Linked DNA regions of Homo sapiens: region 2 is linked to region 1. Evidence: promoter capture Hi-C in 16 types of primary human blood cells and fetal thymus (Javierre and others, 2016). All regions are on one chromosome and are shown on one strand. The core of a region is centred on a gene start or on the middle of the fragment in contact, and the rest is flanking DNA. Distances in the headings are between cores, read along the strand shown.

Region 1 (6,960 bases), core at 2,600-5,099:
CTATGAACATCTTCATTTCCCTATCTTAACAAGGCTGATATCCCTAATTCCTCATTCCCTTTAACTTGGTTTTTAAAAATTTTACTGGTGACCCATTAGTGGGTTATGAAATCAATGTAGTATGTCATACCAGCACTTTTTAAATAATGAAATAGAATAGAAAGCATCAGAGCACATTCCAGAAAGCAATACTGTTTATGAACAACTTTTTCTTCAGTTGTGTATGTGTGCTATATCTTACTGTGGGTCAAGTCAAAAAAAGCTTAAAACCTATTGTAAAGTTTTCGTCATGCACATGGTCAACAATCATGAAATATTTATCAAATGAGCAAACGAAAATGGGCAGGCCCTTCGGATCCACGTGTACTTGCAAATTAAGTAAAAGATTTTTGTAGAAAACTCTCAGGCAGGTCATACAAGGCCCTTAAGTCACACTCCTAAGGTAGACACCACAAATGGGTATCTTAAGGTACCCAGACATGCTATTGTTAAAATGTTTTAAATCATTCATTTAAAACAACACATAAAATTTTCCCATTCAGATCTGGATATTAGGCTTCTTAAAAAAAAAATTGGGCAACTCTGAACCCATATGATAACAATTAGGTGGACCTGAGTACAACTCCCTATTTTAGAAAGCATATGTAAGCTCTACTGTAGATCTCCACTGTACATACTATCCAGTGTATGCACACTCTGCCACAGTCCCCACCACTCCCTATTACCTCCAGTAAGCAACTTCACTCACTTAGACTGTCTGAAAGACCTCTGTAATCACAGGCTCAGGCCTACAGGATATGTTCATGATTTGAATGTCTAGCCTTATATCAGCTTCCCTGACTTTCACCTTGCATTTCCCACAACCTACTTCATATCTTGAATTTCCTCACTAAAATAAGAGTATTACTGTCATCACAGAGATACTGTGACTGTTTAATAAGATGTGTAAATGAAAGTGACTAACACAAAGCAACGGCCCAATAACTGTGTACTAAAGCTATTCCCATGTCAACTAATGACAACACAATTTACCTAGACCAGTGGTTCCCAAATTTTGATGCATGCTGGAATTCCTTAGAGACTTTAAAAAACACTGATGCCTGGCTCCTAGGCCTCCAAAGTTCTAATTTATTGGTGTGAGGTGCAAGTGCACATCAGGACTTTTCAGAGCTTCCCAAGTGATTCAACTATAAAGCAAAATTAGAGAATCACTAACCTAGACAGTCACCCAGCCCAGAAATCTGAGTTATTACTGACTTCATCTTCTCCCACATCTTCCTCTAAAATGTCTCTCCAACAGGCACCTCCTCTAAGCTCCCAGGTCAGAATTAAGGTTTTTAACATCCCTCCTGGATTTCACTAGTACCTTCTCTAATTTCCTCCTCCATCCACTCTCTACTCCACTGCCAGTGTTATCTTTCTAAAGTAAACCTGATTTGTTCCTGCTTAAAAACACTGAAGTCAGGCCAGGCCCAGTGGCTCACGCCTGTAATCCCAACACTTTGGGAGGCCGAGGTGGGCAGATCACGGGATCAAAAGATTGAGATCATCCTGGCCACCATGCTGAAACTCCATCTCTACTAAAAATACAAAAATTAGCTAGGTGTGGTGGCACACACCTGTAGTCCCAGCTACTCAGGAGGCTGAGGCAGGAGAATCGCTTGAACCTGGGAGGTGGAAGTTCCAGTGAGCCGAGATTGCGCCACTGCACTCCAGCCTGGGCGGCTGAGCCAGACTCCATCTCAAAAAAAAAAAAGAAAGAAAACAAAAAAACAGTGAAGTCTAAACTTTTTAACTTGTCATGAAGACCTTTCACAATGAGGCCCTTACCTACTTTTCTAGCTTCATCTCCTGTCATACCCCAAAATATACCCTAGCACTTAACACTATCACACTGCTCTGTTATTTTGGCTTTCTGGACATTCTAAAGGCACAAATCCCATTCTGCCTTTGTTCATGCTGCACCCTTTGCTTCGAGTTCCATTTCTCTATGAAACAAAACCTTATTCATCCTTTAATGTTCACTCCAAAAATACCACCTTAATGAAGTATTTCTTATCCATACATTCAACTTTCCCTCCCTCTTCCATACTTCCATATAATTATAATAGTAACCTATCTAGTGCCAAGATCCTGTTGTGTGTTATTCTCATTTAAACCTCACAACACTACTTTGGGTAGGGTAGGTATTATACCCAATTTACAGATGGAGTAACTGAGACTTTGAGAATTTAAGTGACTATCAAGTCATCAACTTAGTAAGTGGTAGACATGATGGGCACTGCAGTCTGACTCTAGAGCTCATCTTCTTTACCACCACCTTACTCTGTCTCATTGTAAAATCTCTTCTAGAGGACATCTAACTTTATATTCAATTAAGAGAGAGACAGTAACTTGAGAGCAGAGCCCTGAGCATCTGTATTTGTCTCCTGAACACAGGATTAGGTTTTCAATAAGTGTACCCTCAATGGATGAACTAAATAATGAAATAGAACTCTTAAGAGTAATTCCACGTTCTTTAACCAAAATAGTACCCTGGTCTGATTTCAAACAATTAATTCAGCTCTTTATTATACCTAACACTTTCACCTGTTACTAAAAGCGTGAATAAATTAAAAGTATTCATTACTTAGTAAGTTCCTAGTTTTGGATGCAAATAAAACTCAGGATGGATAATTGGCTGATGACTTGAAATGCTGAACCATAAAACTGTCAAGTGACAGACTACAAATTTTTAAAAAGCATTAAACATATCTCTTGCTTGGGTTTATCTCTCACATCACTTATATGCATGGTCAGAATTTCAGAGAACCACTGAAAAATTAAAAGCTTTGCTTATATTACATTCTTGGTGTCATTTCATTTTTGCTGCAATATACTTTGCACATCCAGACCTGCAGGGGTGCAGGTGGTAGAAAAAAATCAAGCTGGTAGCTGTAATTTAAAAACTTTTGTTTTTTACAAGAAACTGTTTGCAGAGAGGAAGTAATGCATCTAGTACGGTCTGGCATATGCACATTCAGTAAAAACCTGATTAATGAGTAAATATCAAGACAAAACAAGTAAAGCATTTTGTGATTGTGATTCGTGTTAGTCTGTAAGAGAGGAAGTGGCTGGCAGCCAATATGAAGGACTGTTCCCTTTTCTAGTAGACATTCGGAGTGGACAACAATTATCCTAAAAGAAAATAACACACTTTCCCTTTTTTTGAGCATTTATTCTAAGTCTGACAACGCGTTCTGCTTGTCATTTAAGCCCACAGCATAGAAGCTATTGTTCTGCCCACTTTACAGGTAAAGAAGTCATGGCTCAGAGGCATTAAGTGACTCGCCCAAGGTCACCCTACTACAAGGCAGAGACGAAAATTCGAACCCGGACAGTCTGACTCCATAACTTGGGCTTGCAAGCCTCCAGCAGCGAGCAGCATTGTCTGTCGGGCCACAGCGCAACCCCAGGGCGCTAACGAGACACGAGAGGGAGCTTTAGGATTCCCCATCTCGCGGGGTGGGCAGGACAAGCATCAGTAACGAGGAAGACGAGGCCTGAGGAGGCTGGACCACTTTAACAAGGTCACAAAGAGTTTCTGCTCACGCTAGGGGAGCACCCCCAAATCCCTCGGGACCACTGGGGAGCCTGAGCCAGAGCTCCCCCCGCACAGAGGCGGCAGCGCCCAGCTCGCCGAGGTCAGGCCTGCGAGCAGGTCTGCTGGCCCCAGGGCGCCGGCCGCGGCGCCAAGACCGAAGTCAGGCCGCCGCATCTGCCCAGCGTTCCACCAAGGGCCTTACCGGGTCGCCAGAACTTCACCGGTCCCACGGGCGCAGCCATGTTGGGGTAAAAGGTCACGAGGCTAGCTCCACCCCACCGTCGCGCGCTAGGCCCCCAGGGCCCGGAGGGCGTGGCCCCCGAAGAGCCGCTGCCCAGACGGATCGCGCCGTGTGACGGCCACGCCCCCACAGCTACCGCCCCCGTCTGAGCCACGTGACCCACTTCCAGGCTCCGGCGAGCGCACCGGCCCCGCCCCCGAGCCCACGTGACCCTGCTCAGCCATTTTGGAGAAAAGGGCGCGCTCCTCCGCCTACCTCTTGAGCGTGGAGGGTAGATGCTTCAGGTGACCTTTTACGAGCGTGGCGTGTCCTGGATGGCGGCCGCACACTTAGGAAGAACGGGCTTTGGGAGAGGACCGCTGGCCCGAGAGTGGAACCTTGCACGCACTGGGCGTTGAAGCAGTGCTTTCTGGATTAAATACGAAATACTGATGTCACAAGCTACCTCAACTTGTCGACTTCTGTTTTATTCTCAATTTCAAATTGAAGGGTAATAATAGGAACTACCTCGTGGGTTGTATTTGTCAGTAAATATTGCGCGCCTGCTGTGGGCCCAGGTAGTGCGGCACAGTGCCCCAAATAAAACAATGCGAAATGATATGGAAGTCTTCAGGGACCTTGAGGGCAAAACGGAAAAACGGACTGGGGGTGGGGTGGAGCGAATGGGTTGGCAGAAGAGACTGAAAATGGGTAGATCAATTAAGGTAGTCCACCAACTCAGTGCTTCCTCCAATTTGATACCCTTGAGTCAAATGCTTGTTAAAAACACAGATTCTAGGCCTTGATCCAATTCTGAATCGATGTCCTGGAGCATGGCTTGGGAACCTGCATTTTGAGAAGCTCCTGAATTCTTCAGATTAACAAATTTGGGAAAGATTACACTAATCCATCAGACGAAAGGTGAGGTCAAAGAAAAAGAAATTACAGTAATCCAAAGGAGCGCTAAGAAGGGGTGATGAGCTCAAGTGGAGGAAATAACTTTCTAGGTAGGCAACTAATTGGAAGGAAGTGAGAGGCTTCAGAATCTATGCATTTTTAAAGCTGTGAAGAAAATTCTGAATTCTTTGAAAGAAGTGGCATCATTATGGCAAGAGCAGGGGCTTTTGTGGACAACCAGTCCAGACTTGGAATCGTAACTTTGCCATTTCCTAGCTCCTAGCTGTCATTTAATTTTAGTTGTAAAATGAGGTTTAAAGAGGTATTACATGAGATAACATGTAAAGTACCTAACAGTGCAAAACATAGCAGGCACTGAATCAATGTTAGCTCTCATTACCTCAACTCAGAGCAAATCCACCAGGGGGAAAAAAATCTGAATTTACCTGCATAGGTTCATGTAAGAATCTTCTTTGATTTATTTTTATAGTAATTAATGTAGGGACTCAATATCTGTTAGTCCCTCGGCCTAGAATTCTCCATCCATCCTTTAAATTATCTTTATCCCTTAAAGGGCTAGCTCTAAATTATCTATCCAACTTAAACATTCCCCCTTGTAGTCTAGGAACTGTATTCTCACTTTTGTGAGAAAAGTGACCTGTAGTTTAGTTGCCTGTAGTTTACCTGCCGCCACTATTACACAGGGAACTTACTGAGGACGAGGACCATGTCACATTCACATTCGTGGCCCAGTAACAAGTGCCTATTGAGTGTAGATAAACATCATGCTTTAGGCTTAGTTTTAGTTGATCTGTAGTTTACCTGCCGCCACTATTACACAGGGAACTTACTGAGGACGAGGACCATGTCACATTCACATTCGTAGCCCAGTAACAAGTGCCTATTGAGTGTAGATAAACATCATGCTTTAGGCTTAGTTTTAGTTGATCTGTAGTTTACCTGCCGCCACTATTACACAGGGAACTTACTGAAGACAAGGACCATGTCAGCATTCACATTCACATTCACATTCGTAGCCCAATAACAGTGCCTATTGAGTAATGTATAGATAAACATCATGCTTTAGGCTTAGTTTTAGTTGATCTGTGGTTTACCTGCCGCCACTATTACACAGGGAACTTACTGAGGACGAGGACCATGGCACATTCACATTCGTAGCCCAGTAGCAGTGCCTATTGAGTAATATACAGATAAACATCATGCTTTAGGCTTAGTTTTAGTTCTTCATGACATTGATTTTTCCTTGTTTTATTTTTGTCTTATTTTACTAACAGCCCAAATACGGAAACCAAGGTTTATACATGAATATAAGGCAAAATGAAATAAATGCCACTTTTAAGATTATTTCATGGCCTGGCACGGTGGCTCACACCTGTAATCCCAGCACTTTGGGAGACTGAGGCAGGCAGATCAACTGAGGTAAGAGTTCGAGACCAGCCTGGCCAACATGGCGAAATTCTGTCTCTACTAAAAATACAAAAAAATTAGCCGGGTGTGGTAGTAGTCACCTGTAATCCCAGCCAGTTGGGAAGGTGAGGCAGGAGAATCCCTTGAACCCGGAAGGCAGAGGTTGCAATGAGCAGAGATCCGCCACTGCACTCCAGCCTGGGCGACAGAGTGAGACTCTATCTCAAAAAATAGAAAAAAAAATAAATAAAATAACTTATCTATTTTATCTATTACTCATATAATGAAACCTTCCTGTTTATGAAGAGACAGTAAATCGGCCATGCCTGTATTATTGGATCATAATCTTTTTTCTTTTTTAGATGGAGTCTTGCTCTGTCGCCCAGGCTGGCAAGCAATGGCGAGATCTCATCTCACTGCAACCTCCACCCACCGGGCTCAAGCGATTCTCCTGCCTCAGCCTCCCTAGTAGCTGGGACTACAGGCACACGCCACCATGCCCGGCTAATTTTTGTATTTTTAGTAGAGACAGTTTCCCCATGTTGGTCAGGCTGGTCTCATGGATCATAATCTTAAAGCTGGAGGAGACCATACTTAACACCTAGCCTGAATTTCTTGTCTTATAGGAAACTGAGGTACATAGAAGTTAAAAGGACTTGGTCAGAATCAATGAGTTAATTTAGTATCAGAACTAAAACTAGAACTCGGGCTTTCTAATTCCCAGGCCAGTGTTTGCTCAACTACATGGGCCACTTAAAATCATTAGAGCTACACTCTCCTGGAAGAAAATTAGTTCATCTGCCTTAGAAAGTTCTCAAAGTCCAACTCTCCC
Region 2 (6,960 bases), core at 1,391-3,890, 920 kb after region 1:
AACCTGGGAGTGGTCTTGGGGCCCACAACAATAAGTAAATATCATGTGGGTAACTCTCAAATTTATGTCTCCAGAAATCAAGTCTCTACTGAGCTTCAGACTATTTTATCCACCTGCCTATTTGGCATCACTCCTTGGAATATTCACTAGCCACCTCACACTCGGCCTGGCCAAAACAAAACTCGTGATTTCCTCCACCAAATCTTTTCCCCAATCTTCACTTCAGTAAAGGGCACCATCAGTCATTCCTTACATCAAAAACCTAGAAATCGTCTTTGATTTCTCTTTTCACTTACTACCAGCTCCCACTCAACGCCTATAAATCCTATCAGTTTTACACTGGAGAGGTGGGGATCCTCCCACGAAGGAAGCACTCAATAAATGGAAGCTATTAGTATCTTCCCATTGCTTCTGAGTCCTAGGCAATGTCACCTCTAGCCTGCATCACAGCAATATCCTCCAAACTCATGTCCCCGCCCCTCCCTTGGCCTTTACAATCCATCCCTCTACACTAAGCCATTTTTAAAGAGGGATGTTTTAAAAATGTATGTTGGAATATATTGGAATATATCATTCCCCTGGTTAAAACTCTTCAATGACATCCCATGAGAAAAAAATCCTAACTTCCAAGACTTACAGGGTGTATGTGACTGCTGCATGTCCACCTCTCGGACCTCATCTGGATATCACTTTTCCCTTTGTGCACTATATTCTAACCACACCAGCCTTCATTCTGTTTCTCTTAGAAGGCCAAGATGATCTCTGCCTTAAGTTTTTCTTAATAGCTGCTCCCGCTTCGCATGATTACCGCAAATGTCATTTCCTTAGAGGCCTTCCTGAACCACACTACCTGTGAGATCCTACTCTAGAACATCACTCCATTTTACTATGTCCATATTGTCCTGCTCTGAAAGTATCTTGCTCATTTAATTGTCTTTGCCTGCCTTGTTCACTGCTGCTCCCCCCGTGTCTGGATCCATACTTGGCACATAGAAGGCACTCCAATACATGTTGAATGAAAAATGACATGGACAGCTGTCTCCTCACTGGGAAGAAAACAAGGCACTTGTATGAAAAGCAAGTTTGCAGTCTGGTTAATTAAACTGCTATTCAAATCAAATCTATCCTATGAACTTGGCAGCTTTCTCTGACTTGAGAGTTTTTTTTACTGTTTGTTTGTTTTGGGTGTGGAGGTGTCTTTTATCATAAAAATATCCCTCATCAATTTAGTCAACAGTAATGGGTCAACTATCTTTGTTCATCAACTGACCACAGAAAAAGCACACAGAAAGTATATGTTAATTAGGCTACTCCTACTGTGGACGAGCTGCATCACGGTTGAAGCAGAACTGTTGGACTTTCTGTCCCAATAATGGGGTATAAGAAAGGAGATTGGAAACATGGGTATCCTGAATGTAATACCCAAGCAGAATCTTAAAAGAACCAGAATGCAAACAGAAAGGAATTCGGGCTATTTTATTGAGAAGGACCAGGTTTATCTTCCTCACACTGCCACTGAATCTGCCAAGACACCTAAAACCTGGCTAGTTTTTAAGGTGTTCCCAAGAAAAAAGGAATTTTTAACCCTGGTGTTGCCCACCCCCTTTTCCACCCCTTTCTATTTACTTTTTGGTTTCAGGACAGCTAAAGATTACAGATCGTTTGTCTGTTTGTAATTTAGAGACAGGGTCATGCTCTGTTGCTAAACCTGGAGTGCAGTGGTATGATTATAGCTCACTACAGCTTTGAACTCCTGGGCTCAAGCAATCCCCCTGCCTCAGCCTCCCAAGTAGCTAGGACTACAGGTGCACACCACCATGCCTGGCTAATTTTTAAAAAATTTTTTGTAGACACAGGGTCTCACTATGCTGCCCAGGCTGGAATTTTTTAATAACACTGTTATGTTTACTATCCCTACAAGAAATCATTCCAGCCAACTCCCTAGACCAAATCTCTTCCATAATGAGTTAACATTAATTAACTCATTTAACAAATATTTACTGAACGCCTACTGTGTCAGGGCAGACCATAATGTTGCCCAGCTCCTGGGACACCACTTACATGGAGGCTATATAAATGGTATTCCTTCAAGCTACATAACTCAGCAGCTCTGTGCCAGACACTTTACTAGGTGCCTGGAATATAGGAAAAAACAAATGATCCAATGAATGAGCAAATGTGGAACAGGCATTGTACTACATACTTTTAAACATATTGTCTGTCTTTACCCTCACAACTCTTATGAGGGGGAGTGGTATCCTCCCCCTTTAGCCAGTTAGGAAATTTGGGCTCAAAAAGTTAAGTAACACATCCAAGGTCACTCACATAGTGTCTGAGGCAGAGCTACCATCAATTTCTAAGCAACTGTGAACTAAATCTCATCAAAGCAAGAAAATCTGTCTATTTCAGATAGCTCCTCTAGTAGTCTGTTCTAAGCTTACTCTGTTATGAAGATTCAGTATTTTTTTCAAGTTAATAACACATTTTGCTACTTGCGCCCATGTTGATCAAAAGGTGAGCCAGTTATGTAACTTATCCACAAAAACCATCTTTTTCATCTCTAGAAAGCTAGGTGTCATTTCTTTCTCTTGGATTTCTAATTTTATTCCTTCAAACTTTTCAAATCCTGCAATGAAAGCAGGACTTCATTTCTCATTTAAGGCCTTTCACTATATTTTAGACCTAGTAACAATTTATGTTTAACCTACTAGTCTCCCATTCATGTTTCCCAATTCCTTTTGCAAATATCTGTTTATATATTTACTTATAAACATAATATTCTAATGAACGATAGTTTTTCTTTGCTTTTCCTGGGCACCTAATTTAAGCCCACAGAAAGCTTTTGTTTTTACATGAAGTAAAGTAATTTATAAAACTTTTAATCCAATGTATGCTTTCTATGGTATTAGTTGTATGAGTGCCACTCCTCTCTGCCACAAAACACAACAGCACCAGGCTTAATACAATATAGCCAGAGCAAACACCTACTTTCTACACTAATAATTACTATTATTGCAGTTACAGTAATGCCTACTATTTTTAGTAAACTAGACATCTAGAAATCCAGAAGGAAATAAAAAGGAAGGCATTTGGCAATTAATTTCTTGCTATTAAGTTATGTTACTAAAAGGTTCCCTTACTAGTTAGCTTTGTTTTTTGATCATAAGCTGATGAGACAACTCAACCAAACCAAGGAAAATACCATAACCAAGAAATAAATTCAAAAAATGAAAATGAATATATCTAGAAGAAAGATAATGCTAGGCTGAATCTCTCAAATGTATCAGAATGTTTACATGTCTCGATAGTTCTTGAGGGCTCAACAAAACATAAAACCACAATTCGGCCTCCACAACTCTCTGTAAAGTAGGAAGTTGTCAATTTACAAAGGCTATCACAGAAAAGGAAAGAACAAAAAGGTGGGAAAGGCAATGAATTTAAAAACAAATCCAAAAAACAGACAACATACCTGGCAACATGAGAAAAAGCATCCACAAGGACAGATTCAAATTCTCTAGTGAATTCAGGTCCTTTCCTTTTACTGTTTTGGATGACATCATTCGCTAAATACAGAAAAGTAAGCTTTCTATTTGATTTGGCTGAAAAAAAGAAAAGAAAAGAATTTAACTTACACCAAAGAAATTCTCAATTCACAATTCTTTTGCCCTGGGCTGCTCCTAAAAAAACATTAAGACAAGTATTATCTACCTGGGGGGTCAAGTAGATATGTTTAAAAAGACCACCTAAGGAATAGGTTTGGGAATACCATTTCGGAAAAAAAAAAAAGAAAAAGAAAAAGAATGGGCCATCTTCATTGCTGTGTTGTTTAAACCAGGGTAATTAATTGATAGTAAAAATTAAGATAATCCAAAGAGAATTCCTAAAGGATAAGCAGTCAGTGTTAATGTTGAAACTAGGGCTTTTATTTATTCTACTGCAAAAATGAGCAACTTCTAACTCACTTTTAATTATCAAATATTTCAGAATGAAAGACTGAGTTGGCCGGACGCAGTGGCTCATGCCTGTAATCTCAGCACTCTGGGAGGACGAGGTGGGTGGATCATTTGAGGTCAGGAGTTTGAGACCAGCCTGGCCAACATGGTGAAACCCTACCTCTACTAAAGATACAAAAATTAGCCGGGTGTGATGGTGGGCACCTGTAGTCCCAGCTACTCAGGAGGCTGAGGCAGGAGAATCGCTTGAACCCAGGAGGTGGAGGTTGCAGTGAGCCGAGATTGCACTACTGTACTCCAGCTTGGGCAATAGAGCAAGACTCTGTCTCAAAAAAAAAAAAAAAAGACTGAGTTAGGTTTCAATTTTAAAATGGTTTCGCCGAGCGTGGTGGCTCATGCCTGTCATCCCAGCACTTTTGGAGGCCGAGATGGACGGATCACCTGAGGTCGGGAGTTTGAGACCAGCCTGACCAACGTGGAGAAACCCCGTCTCTACTAAAAATACAAAATTTGCCTGGCGTGGTGGCACATGCCTGTAATCCCAGTTACTCAGGAGGCTGAGGTGGGAGAATCGCTTGAATCCGGGAGGTAGAGGTTGTGGTGAGCCTAGATCATGCTGTTGCACTCCAGCCTGGGCAACAAGAGCAAAACTCCGTCTCAAAAAAAAAAAAAAGGTTTCTTGTAATTTTGCTCCTAAACTGAGAATTTCTCTGATACTCCAATAACCATAATCAATAATATAGAAGAATCTCTAGGTGCACCAATAGATATTAGCTCAAATACAAGTATACATTAACACTACACTCTTATTGAAAATTTACACACGTGTGAAATCTAGATATGCAAAATTAGGGCTTTCACAAAAACCATAATTCTCTCTTATTTATATGAAATGTGGTTATTCCCTATTACTCTATATGGTATCATATATTAAACCATAAAAACCTCGTGCAATATGTCTGAGTTACAGTTGCTTTGGGGAACATTACTGAATTCCCTGGCTTCTATGCACATAATTTCTCAACTATAAAGTTACATCCCTACAATTTTTGGTTCCAATTTTCTTTTAAAAGAAATAAATAAGAACATAATTAGATGTTTCAAAACACAAAGTTTTCTCCAATGCTAAAGTACCTGAAAAACACAAGCTCTTTATCAACCTTAACACACCTGAGTAACTCTATTTCTCTCTGAAACCAGTTGTTTCTTTTGAAATGTACAAAGCATTGATATGTCTGACATAGCAGGCATAAGATCTGACATTTTAAAATGTAGCTACAGGAGGCTGGGCACAGTGGCTCACGCCTGTAATCCCAGCACTCCGGGAGGCCAAGGCAGGTGGATCACCTGAGGTCACGAGATCAAGGCCATCCTGGCTAACATGGTGAAACCTTGTCTCTACTAAAAATACAAAAAATTAGCCAGGCGTGGTGGCGGGCGCCTGTAGTCCCAGCTACTCAGGAGGCTGAGGCAGGACAATGGGGTGAGCCCAGGAGGCGGAGCTTGCAGTGAGCCGAGATCACACCACTGCACTCCAGTCTGGGTGACAGAGCAAGACTCTGTCTCAAAAAAAAAAAAAAAAAAAAAAAACAAAACAAAAAAAATCAGCCGGGCGTGGTGCCAGGCGCCTGTAAACCCAGCTACTTGGGAGGCTGAGGCAGGCGAATCACTTGAACCTGGGAGGCGGAGGTTGCAGTGAGCCGAGATCGCGCCAACTGCACTCCCACCTGGGTGACAGAGTAAGAGACTCCGTCTCAAAAAAAAAAAAAAAAATGTAGCTACAGGAGAGTAACCCAAGTTAAAAACATGATTTTAATAGCACATTACAGTTTAAACTGATGAAACTGATGTCTTAAATGCTCATAAAATTAAATATGGATACCCTGAATTGTCTTAACCTTCTGGTAATAACCTAGTTTAGATGGCCAACTGATAAGAATACTAGGAACCTGGAGCTTTCTTCAACTTTCTAATTATTATTCAAAAGCAGAACAAAAGTGTCAGTAGTTACAATATCTACTGTTGCTACAAAGGTATGATTATGGCAAAACGTGCTTTTTTGTTAAAGCAAACCTTGCTCTGCAAAGTTGATGTAAGTGAAACTACTACACCTATAATCCCATGCAAGTTAGCAGATTCGAAAGCAAAACAGAACTTCAACAAAGCAAATTTCATTAAGTGAAGCTTTAAAATTCCATACACTTTATGTTGAAAAAAAAAAAACCTAGAATCCATATTGTAAAATGTCAGTGTGGACATTCAAGACCTGATATATACTTCTCAGTAGACAAACAAGGTATCTAAGGGGCTTGAGACCCAAGGTTTTCACTGTTTACAATGCCAATTAATTTTCATCACCCCAGAACTTAACAATGGGGATTTATTTAGGATAAACTGTATCCCTCCATATTCAACATCCTCAACAGTCAACATAAGCACCATGTGTGTCAAGGTGATATGACAAAACCCTAGAGCTCTTGAGCACACACAGTCACAATACACACAACATGCACACCCCTCCATCCCAATCCTGGGGGACAACTCACTTGTTCAGATGTCCTTCCTATACGACAGAAATAGGTCCTTTCACTCACTACCCATGTCCATTCCAAACTGGTCAAACTAGTTGTTGAGTAAAATTTAAACAACTGGTTAATCAAAACTTTTCACTTGTTTGGCTGGTTTTGACATCTACAGAAAGTCTTAAAGTAATTCTGCAATAAAAGCCCATTACCTACATTCAGGCCAAGATACAAAACACCATTAAAAACATTCATTTAGGAGCACTTTACACCAAAACTAGTCCATAAAGAAGGGGAGACGTTCTACTTAGAACAGAGCTCAAATGGGATAAATTAAAAATTATTCCTAGAAAATGGAAAGACAACACATCAGGAATAGAAGTATTTAAGCAAGAAAAAAAGTTAATTTTTATAAATCTCATATATTTTGAAGGCAACTCAGAGACAGTCTGTGAGCATCTCAGCTACGGAAAATGACTTCACCC

Evidence for each region. Contacts are between HindIII fragments. The CHiCAGO score rates a contact against its expected background, and 5 or more counts as called.
Region 2: a fragment that was not itself captured here is called in contact with the fragment with the promoter of DHX35 in region 1 in 1 of 17 cell types (activated CD4 T cells); the score reaches 5.7 in activated CD4 T cells.

What each region holds. Positions count from the first base shown.
Region 1 is chr20:38,959,233-38,966,192 of GRCh38, reverse strand. It overlaps DHX35 (DEAH-box helicase 35), which reads right to left and starts at 3,849. Exons shown (of 22, transcript NM_021931.4): 1 at 3,786-3,849. The coding sequence starts at 3,825. RefSeq lists an enhancer at 3,515-3,824 and a silencer at 3,865-3,984. The HindIII fragment of the contact is 4,420 bases long and covers 2,832-6,960 here.
Region 2 is chr20:38,037,074-38,044,033 of GRCh38, reverse strand. It overlaps RPRD1B (regulation of nuclear pre-mRNA domain containing 1B), which reads right to left. Exons shown (of 7, transcript NM_021215.4): 2 at 3,470-3,599. It overlaps LOC124904898 (a long non-coding RNA gene), which reads right to left. Exons shown (of 2, transcript XR_007067579.1): 2 at 5,927-6,575. Among named protein-coding and RNA genes, the nearest start is that of RPRD1B, 6.8 kb to the right of the region's middle. The HindIII fragment of the contact is 403 bases long and covers 2,439-2,841 here.